Regions from separate parts of the Homo sapiens genome. Here region 2 is linked to region 1. Evidence: promoter capture Hi-C in 16 types of primary human blood cells and fetal thymus (Javierre and others, 2016). All regions are on one chromosome and are shown on one strand. The core of a region is centred on a gene start or on the middle of the fragment in contact, and the rest is flanking DNA. Distances in the headings are between cores, read along the strand shown. Region 1 holds the start of SMARCAD1 (SNF2 related chromatin remodeling ATPase with DExD box 1). Region 2 holds the start of PPA2 (inorganic pyrophosphatase 2).

Evidence for each region. Contacts are between HindIII fragments. The CHiCAGO score rates a contact against its expected background, and 5 or more counts as called.
Region 2: a fragment that was not itself captured here is called in contact with the fragment with the promoter of SMARCAD1 in region 1 in 2 of 17 cell types (total B cells and naive CD4 T cells); the score reaches 7.1 in total B cells.

The regions. Positions count from the first base shown.
Region 1 is chr4:94,206,260-94,210,975 of GRCh38, reverse strand. SMARCAD1 (SNF2 related chromatin remodeling ATPase with DExD box 1) reads right to left here and starts at 3,111. Exons shown (of 24, transcript NM_020159.5): 1 at 2,906-3,111; 2 at 2,392-2,630. The coding sequence starts at 2,581. SMARCAD1-DT (SMARCAD1 divergent transcript) reads left to right here and starts at 3,420. Exons shown (of 9, transcript NR_125922.1): 1 at 3,420-3,446. RefSeq lists enhancers at 2,531-3,034, 3,133-3,492. The HindIII fragment of the contact is 2,630 bases long and covers 1,041-3,670 here.
Region 2 is chr4:105,469,912-105,474,715 of GRCh38, reverse strand. PPA2 (inorganic pyrophosphatase 2) reads left to right here and starts at 654. Exons shown (of 12, transcript NM_176869.3): 1 at 654-822. The coding sequence starts at 666. RefSeq lists a silencer at 464-673 and enhancers at 894-1,013, 1,304-1,473. The HindIII fragment of the contact is 1,188 bases long and covers 1,370-2,557 here.

The sequences.
Region 1 (4,716 bases), core at 1,862-4,361:
ATTTGAATTCTTAAAGACATTTACCTTTTTTTTTTTTTTTTTTTTTGAGATACAGTCTCTGTCCCCCAGGCTGGAGTGCAGTGGTGTGATCTAGGCTCACTGCAACCTCTGCCTCCCAGGTTCAAGCAATTCTTGTGCCTCAGCCTCCTGAGCAGCAGGGATTACAGGCACGCTCCACCATGCCTGGCTAATTTTTGTATTTTTAGTAGAGACGGGGTTTCACTATGTTGGCCAGGCTGGTCTTGTGATCTCAGGTGATTTGCCCACCTTTGCATCCCAAAGTGCTGGGATTACAGGCTTCAGCCACCGCGCATAAAAATCTTACCATTCATCTTATCTCATTCCCATCAGGGATCTAAACCCTGCCCTTCATTACTTTGAAACCTCTCATATCTCTTTCTTCTCCATTTCTACCGCTATCATTAAGCTCAATTACAGGAGTTGCCTAAATGTTTTCTTTCCCTTCAATCCCTACCCTCAATCAGTGTGTACTAGTCACTACTGCTAAACTGACTTTTAAAACTTTCTTTCACCATTTTCCATTCACTCTGTAAGTTCTTCAATGGATATCTAATACTTACAATGTAAAATCTAAACTTCTCAGTTTTCAAGATTCTCCAAAATTCACAGTATCATTTAAAACAATCTTTTATTAAAGCAAAGTGCTCCATTCCTACAAGGATTAATTCTCAACATTCCTAGAACAAACTTAGTTTTCTTATTTCCCGAAGCCATCAAGGCTGATCATGTAATTCCTAAAGCAATCTCAGTTTTTAAGCAGAATTTATGTATGGAAAAAAGTCCCAATAAAGAGAAAATGAGTGTTATCATTAGAAAGAAATAAAAACAGAAAAATATCTTCTGATCACTAAAGGAAATTAAAGATTTCACATGACCAATACTGATAAATAACTAAAACATTCCACTGAAATCCAGTTTACAAACTGCTTTCACTTTCAGAGATGAAAAAAGTGTGGATCACAGATTTCAAATGACTTGTCTAATGTCCCACATTTAACAAAAATGAAGAAGCAGAAGCTTCTATGGACTCGAAATCCCATGTCTACACCTTGGCTTTCCTGAACTATCTAACTACAGAGGAAACAGACAAATATATTCATTGGAAAAGCATTAAAATACCTGGATGTCAAATATCTATTCAAAGAGTGAACACAGGGATTAAAATCCTGGTGCTTAAAATCCTTCAGTTGTTCCCTATAGCATTTAAATTCAAAACTACTTAGACAAAGCCTTTGTAAATCTGACTCCTAATCCAATCTACCAAATCATTCTGCCAATTTCCAATTACACCAAAGTATTTAAAAATGTTATTCTAATGATAACTTGCAGAGGATCTGCCATCATTATTACATTTAAGTAGAAGGGTGGCAAACAAAAAGATACCAAGGATAAACATGTGTGTTACCAATCTTTCAGGCTACATTAAGTTAAAAGCTGTTTACGAAACAGAGTTTTGCATAAAAAAAGATATTACTGAAATAAATATTAAAATATAACTTCCAACATTCCTTTCACCTTTCCTAAGAAACTAACTAATTAGTTTATGCTCAGGAATCATACTGCCAGGACTTGAGTTCAGGCTCTACCAAGTTCCTAATAACCTCTCTGAATCTCATTTCACATTAACCTCTATGTCAGTAATATCTACCTTGTAGGATTATTGTGCAAATTAAATGACAGAAGGTGAAGCACTTATCACTATTCCTATAATACAACAAGAGCTCAAATATATTCCTCTAATAGTTAACTGTTCAATGAACATAGATTCGAGTGGAAATCTTAATTTTTGGCTTATCCTCAAATACTTTTGTCTCTGACAATCTGCTGATGAGGTTAAAAATGTTCATTCACCATGAAGAATACCAATTACTCATTTGCATTCTGAGGACATCCAGGAAGTCAGGTGGATGCAAGAACTTGATGTGATCTGATCTTCCCTTGTGTACAGAGGTTGTCTTTAGGCACCTTGCTCAATGTCTAGCTCACAGTAGATGATCAATATTTTGAGGGAATACTGGAATGAATGAAAATGTCTGCCCAAATAGCCTCAAAGTTTATCATAGGACTGAATCACTGACATCGCTCTTCCAATAGCAACCGTTCTGACCTATGGATGCCCTAAATTCTAATTTCAACTTCCACCATGGGGCCATATTCGAAGAACTCATATAAAAGTGAGGCGACAATGGATGGATGCTCAGTTGAGGGTACATGGTGCTTATGGCAGTCCCAAAGCTGTATTTAAAAGGGCACACCGCAGGACAATGCATCAATATATATGACATCAAGAATAAAAATGAGAATCCCTTCTGCCTTTCATCTTTTAAAAACTGTCCTTGATGTTACATCAATTTTAACATTGTAACTCACCTGTTTTTTCAGTTATATCTGAATCAGGAGTGTTTGCCCTGCTAACTTCCCCTTCAGCATTCTCCTCTTCAGCACTAAGAGAAATTGGTGAAGAAGGGCCAGGCTGGGAAGGTTGAGGGGTTGCTTCGGGCGCTTCCTCAATCTTATTCCTTTTCTCAAAGCGAAAACGGTCCAGGTTGAAAAGATTCATATTGGTAGAAAGCACCACCTTGCAGGGATGGGGGCTTTAAATGAACTATCTGCAGGGGAAAAATAAAGAGAGGAAAAAAGGCCATGAAAACAATATACGATACAATGCCACAGCAGTTTATTCCCAAGGCAATAAAGGGCCCGCAAACATGCCAGTGGCTCAGGACTGTTATGGCTGCGCTTCATTGTTAGGCCGCAACAATTAGAAGGTGGACGGGGGTATCTTTTAAAATTTTCCATTGCTTTTCACTCCCCTTCGTCCGCCTCCCCCGCCCGCCCCTCCTTACTGAAACCACGAGCTGACCCTCATGCAACCTCCTCTTACCCAAGCACGCGCAGGCACGTTCCCCAGTATAACCCCCTAGCGGGCCTCGCGCCCGCCCACAAAGAGAAGCTCCCTGTGCTACCGTGCCCCCTGCCTCGAGAAAGGACCTGCCAGGGCCCGCGCCTCGACACTGCGGGGACACAAAGGGGCCAAAGAAGGGGAGCGGCGGAGGCCGTGCTGGCGGGCATCCGCCCGGAAGTTGACGCGGCGCGATCCCAGCTGAGAGGAAGCTGATAGGATTAAGAACACACAGGAAGGTTCAGAGGTGGAGTGCATGCTAAGGCATCTTTTTAACGTTCAATCGCTCGCTTGTTCTTTCTTCCCTCAGTACTTACGATCTTGTAGCCTCAGTGCTATGTAACAAAGGTTGAAAATAAAAAAAAAATTTCCTAGCGTGGGGCGACGGTAGCCGTGCCGGGACCTTCCAAAACACCACGGAGAAACCTTAAGAGCGCGTAATGATGACGCAACACGCAGCCTAGGCTTTTTCTTCCCAAACAACGCGCGAGCCGACAATGTCGAGGCGCGCGCTGTTGTCATGGTAATTCGTACCCGTCTCCGCCGGCTTGTAAGGGCCAGATTGTTCTGTACCTTTGTCCTGTTAAATTATCTAGAGAGTTATTAAATAGAACAATAGTAAATAGCATAATGACAAAAAATAACAATATATAATACAATTAGTATATATTGTATGTATTATAATCTGTAGTGTTTCACCTATAATATAATGTAGATAGCATAATAGTAATAATACTGTGCTAAGCTTTTTCAGTGTATAATCCCAATCCTTACAAGAAGCCTATGTTTACAAAGCAAAGAAACTGAGACCTGCAAATGTATAGGTAATTAGTGACGGATAAGAACCCCGGGATGCTGAGCTTCAAAGCATTTAAAGTAATTCCTCACTTTCGGCTTGATTGTTCTTAGAATGGAATTTGATTAATTAATTAATTTTTTAAAAATATTTTAATTTTTAATGTTTGCGGGTACATAGTAGGTGTACATATTTATAGGGTACATGAGATATTTTGATACAGGCATGCAATGTGTAATAATCATATCAGGGTAAGTGGGGTATCCATAACAAGCATTTATCCTTTGTGTTTCAAACAATCCAGTTATTTTAGTCATTTAAAAATGTACAATAAGCTGGGAGTGGTGGCTCACGCCTGTAATCCCAGCACTTTGGGGGGCTGAGGCAGGTGAATCACAAGGTCAGGAGTTTGAGACCAGCCTAGCCAACATGGTGAAACTCCGTCTCTGCTAAATATACAAAAAATTAGCCGGGCGTAGTGGCGGGCGCCTGTAATCTCAGCTAATCGGGAGGCTGAGGCAGGAGAATAGCTTGAACCTGGGATGCGGAGGTTGCAGTTAGCCGAGATCACTCCACTGCACTCCACCCTGGGCAACAAAGCAAGACTCTTGTCTCAAAAAAAAAAGTACAATAAATTGTTGTTGACTGTAGTCATGCTATTGTGCTATCAAATACTAGATCTTATTCATTCAAACTGTATTTTCGTACCCATTAACCATGCTCACCGACCACCGGGGTCCTCCCCCGCCCCACACTACCCTTCCCAGCCTCTGGTAGCCATCGTTCTACCGTTTCTCATACGTTCAATTGTTTTAATTTTTTAGCTCCCACAAATATAATAAATGAGAACATACCAAGTTTTTTTTCTGTGCCTGCCTTATTTCCTTTAATATAATGACCTCCAGTTCCATCCATGTTGCAAATGACAGGATCTCATTTTTTTTAATGGCGAAATAATACTCCACTGTGTATATGCACCACATTTTTCTTATTCATT
Region 2 (4,804 bases), core at 714-3,213, about 11 Mb before region 1:
AGCTTGAACCCAGGAGGCGGAGGTTGCAGTGAGCCGAGATTGTACCATTGCATTCCAGCCCAGGCAACAGTGTGAGACTCCGTCTCAAAAACAAAACAACAACAAAAAATAATAAAATAAAAGAAAGAATAAATAATCTCTACTGGGTTAGGAAATGGCCTTATGGAGAAGATGGCATTTGAGTAAGCTACTTAGGGTTTTTTGCTCTGTAAGTCGGTGTCAACGTCCCGTTTTCACGTGGTGGCCTGATCATTTTGTCTTATAGTGATGTCTTTGCGTGCATGTGCGCTCATCTCCTATATTGGACAGGGTCTAGAGCAGTTCCTGGCACAGAGTAATCACTCAATATTACATCACTATACTAAAAAATCATGATAGTAATTCTTGACGGGATAAATGAAGGCATGAATAAATGTATGAATTAACGAGTGGCAGTGAGCTCTTCAGGGGTGGTGGGTCTTGTCTCACTCGTCTTTGAGCTGCGGCCTCGCTGAGGGCATAGTGCGCACAACTGGCTGGTGTTCCAGATTCCACTGGCAGGGACCAGGATCGCAGCCCGAGCGCCGGGGCGGGAGGGATGACTCCGGACGGTAGGGGGCACCGGCGTGCGGCCCGGCCGAGCCCCCAGGTAGCTCCGCGCGCACAGCAGGACCGTCATTGACGCCATGAGCGCGCTGCTGCGGCTGCTGCGCACGGGTGCCCCAGCCGCTGCGTGCCTGCGGTTGGGGACCAGTGCAGGGACCGGGTCGCGCCGTGCTATGGCCCTGTACCACACTGAGGAGCGCGGCCAGCCCTGCTCGCAGAATTACCGCCTCTTCTTTAGTAAGTAGCTCCCGGAGGTTCGCCGAGCGGCGCACCGGAGAAACCTGGGTGGGGGATGGAATGGGGGACACTTGGGACGCCCCGCGCGGTCTCCCTTCTCTCTTTTTGGGGCCCTCAGCGGTAGCCGCGCGGTCCAGGCCACCTTACTTCCCGCGGGAGCGCGCACCGAGTCACGAGAACTGCCAGCGAGGAGGCGGCGGATCAAGACCCCAAAGCGGAGAGCAGAGGCGCAGGGCTGCCGGCTGGGGGGTAGATAGCGCCCTGTGCCCTGCCAGCCGCCCTCCCCGAGGGGTAGGCAGAGTGCAAGCGGCCACCCCGCGGCGGCCTGCAGCCATTAGCCGGCCCGGCCGCCGTTCCCGGTTCACACAACTCAGTGAGGAAGGGAAGGCAGAGCCCGCCCACACGCCGGCCTTCCTAGAGGCGTAAGAAACCTCCTACTGCGGGAGCTCCCTGACGTCGGAGAGGCAGGCGGAACTTTGCGGATGCCTAATCCAGCGCGTCTTCTTTTTTTGGAGGGACTCTGATGAAGGTTCTTTCCCCAGAAGCTTGACTTGGTACGCACAAGTTTACACCCTGAGTGTGATCCACCATCCAAAGCCTCGTTGGTTCCGGAGCAGCCCCTTTTCCTCCCCAAGCTGAACAAGCCCAGAAGGCTAAGCGACTTCGGGGGGGTCCCTGAGTTGCCGAGCTCAGAGAAAGGACCCAGGTCTTCGTGACTCATTGTTCCGTGTACCCCATTGTTTCACTGTGTACGTTAACCGTAACAGAAAATAGCGATGTCGGTCGCTTGCCTTCACTCCCCACTGACTGCAGAGCCTTGGAGTGGTAGTATCAAAGTGGGCCTTGCATTATCGCTCCCCTTTTCGGAGCACTGGCTCTGGAGGCTTTCAGTTCTAAGCAGGCCCTCGAGTTCTTCACGTCTTAACTCTGTGACCCCGGACGAGTTTAAGTTGCTAAGCCTTGTTTTTTCTCATCCGTAAAATAGGGCTGCAAGTATTACATGACATTATATATGTAAACTGATTAGTCACAGGGCCTAAAATATAAATTACTATTGTTAATACCGATAATCATTATAGATATTTGTAATTTATGAGAGATTTGCAGTTATGCTACATGAGTTTAGGGTCGAGGATTATTTTGTGGGAAAGAAGAGTTTGCCTAAAGTCGTGTGATTATAATGCAACTAGTACTAGAATTTCTATTTTCTTCAAAATTGGTTGCAGTTTTCACCCTATGCCACATATTTTCTTCTATCTTTGGTTAAGACTGATCAGGTGAACAGGAAGTCTCAAATTTCTGAATGGATTATGTTCTAAAAGGTTACCATGTGATGATTAATGGGAATAGTCAGAAAAAATTATGAAGTGGCAGTTCGCTTTTTAAGCAGATTGAAAAAAGGCCTGTCTACTGCAAGTATTCTAGATTTGCAATAAGTACGGTAATTAATAGATACCCAAATAATAAATATTTATGAAGTGTGCTAGACACTGTTAGGCATAGTACAGAGATTCACAATATTACTATAATTATGGAAAAAGTAAATACACTGGTTGAGCAAAAACAGGCTTGAGAAGCCAGGAGCGCACAGAGTAGTTGACCCAGTACCGGATTTGGAATGGGGAGTCCTAGGCCATAATCTTGGCTCTGCCGTTAACTCGCTGTGTGCTGTTGGGTGGGTGGTTACTTCAGTTCTTTCTCACAGAGCCAGTTTCTTCAGCTGTAAAATGAAGCTTTTGACCTTGAAACGATGATCCTCAAGGTCCTTCTCAGCACTGGTATTCCCTGAAGGCATTGGATGAATAACGGAGATTCTAACAGTCTCTGTTAAGACAGGATGTCGAATGGGGGCATTTTTGGGAGTATGTTGGCCTCTTATTGTTGGTTTGTTTCTTTAGCTGCAAATGTACTTAGGACTCATGATTTTTCTGTAACTAGAGTGCCACAAATAAAATACGTTTTTCATTCAGTTGGATAAACAGGGCAGGAAAGAAGAAAACCCGATTTTACTAAGGTAAATGGGCAAAAACTGGAAGAAAGGGGAGTGTGGTTTTGGAGAGGGTCCCGATGGTAAGATCCTGATTGGAAGGTGTGTTGGTTAAACAATTTCTGAACTAACCGCCAGATGGCATCACTGGCCAGGACTGTTTACTACCTGCTAGAAGGGGTAGGGCAAAGTGAAACGAAGCCACTCTAGGGCGAATGGGGTAAGGGGAAAGCAACGAATAAATTGCCCTTTATAAAGATGATCACAGATTGGATATTTATTACTCAGTGTGTCTGTATGCAGTACTAGGGTGGACTAATGTCTCACTTCAAAAAAAATATGAGTGTAGTATACTTGGCCTAAAATTGTTACTCAGTGTTACTAAAGTGTAATCATTTTCCACATCTCCAAATATATTCCAAGTCTCTGAAATACTAGTGCATTGGGAGGTAGAACATTTTCGAGCTTCATGTCTGTAAATGGTTTCTCTTTACTGTCATTCAGTAAAATCAGAATAAATGATTGATGTAATACTTAAAAAAAAATTGGTGTTAAACTTTGTAGAAAGAGTGAGACAGGATGATTAGGGGAAAGGGTATCCTGATGGGAATCATCAGGCCTCCTTGGTGCCAGCCCTGACCCTGTTAGTATCTTGCTGTCACTTCACCTCCCTGCATCTCATTTTTTAAAACCATGGAATGAGGAGATTGGACCAGATGATCATTTTCCAGACTGCTTAGTTGAACACAAGCATCCCATGGTATATTATTAGGTTTTCGTTAAAACAGAGGGTTTCATGGTTTAATAAATTAGAACACTTCCCATTTTATTACTTTTTTGAAGAAGAATTTGCCTATTTAAGTTCTGGAAAATTCGGATGTAACTTCTCCAAAAACTGAACCACAGAGTACTTATTTCTCAGAACATTTGTTAACATCTTAGTGACATCAGGGTTATGATTTCTGCAACTTCCAGAAGCAACTGTGCTGTAACAGTTCTAAACTAATAGTCAAACCACTTAAGTTGTAGTCCTGACTTTACCGTCTTGGACAAGTCACTCGACTGAATTAACCAGAGGCATCCCTTACCTTCAGATGACATCCGGTAGCTCAGTTTCTCCGTAAATAAAATGGGGATAGCACTAGTAATTTTATAGAATTGCTGTGGCAGTTAAATGAGACTATGTGTGTAATTATCAGTGTCTCACACGTGATAGGTATTTAATAAATGTTATTTATTTTTCCCTTTTGACTTTAAGACATTAGACTAAAATCCTTATTATTAGATTCTGTGAAGGGAGAAAATAAGGTGATGTGATTGATTATTTTGAAGTGTTCCTGTTAATTTATAGGTTTCAGAAGGTTTTTTGTTGTTGTTGTTTATTCATTTTATTTTTATTTTTTTGGTTTGTTTGTTTGTTTAGAGATGGGGTCTCATACTTTTGCCCAAGCTGGAGCACAGTGTGCAATCACGACTCACAGCAGCCTTGACTTCCCCAGCTCAAGCGATCCTCTCACCTCTGTCTCCTGGGTAGCTGGGACTACAGGCATGCACCACTGTGCCCGGCTTCCTAGGTCTTAAAGTTTTAATGGGTACTTGCAGTCTTTTAAATTAACTGTGAAATCATAATGAAGTTAGACTCACTTATATTGAGCCAAAGACCTAATGCTGCATGCCAGTATTCCTTTGATATCTTGCGTGTTTTTGTTTGTTTTGTTTCGTTAATAACTTGAAATTTTATTTTAGATTTCATACTGTTCTCATAGGATAGGGAAAAGCTATGCTTTCCATAATTAGGAATTTTGTTATTATGGGATAGGCAACTGGTTTACTTAGAGAAATAGTGCTGTGGATAATTCAAGTTGCTTTTATTTAGTCTGGGAATGAACCAAGCAGTTCTTTAAAATTAATTTGCTTTGTCACTTATAGTAAGCATGTGCTTGTGTTGAAATTACTGTAGGTTTTCTTTATGTCATTTGGGTAGTAGGAGGAATC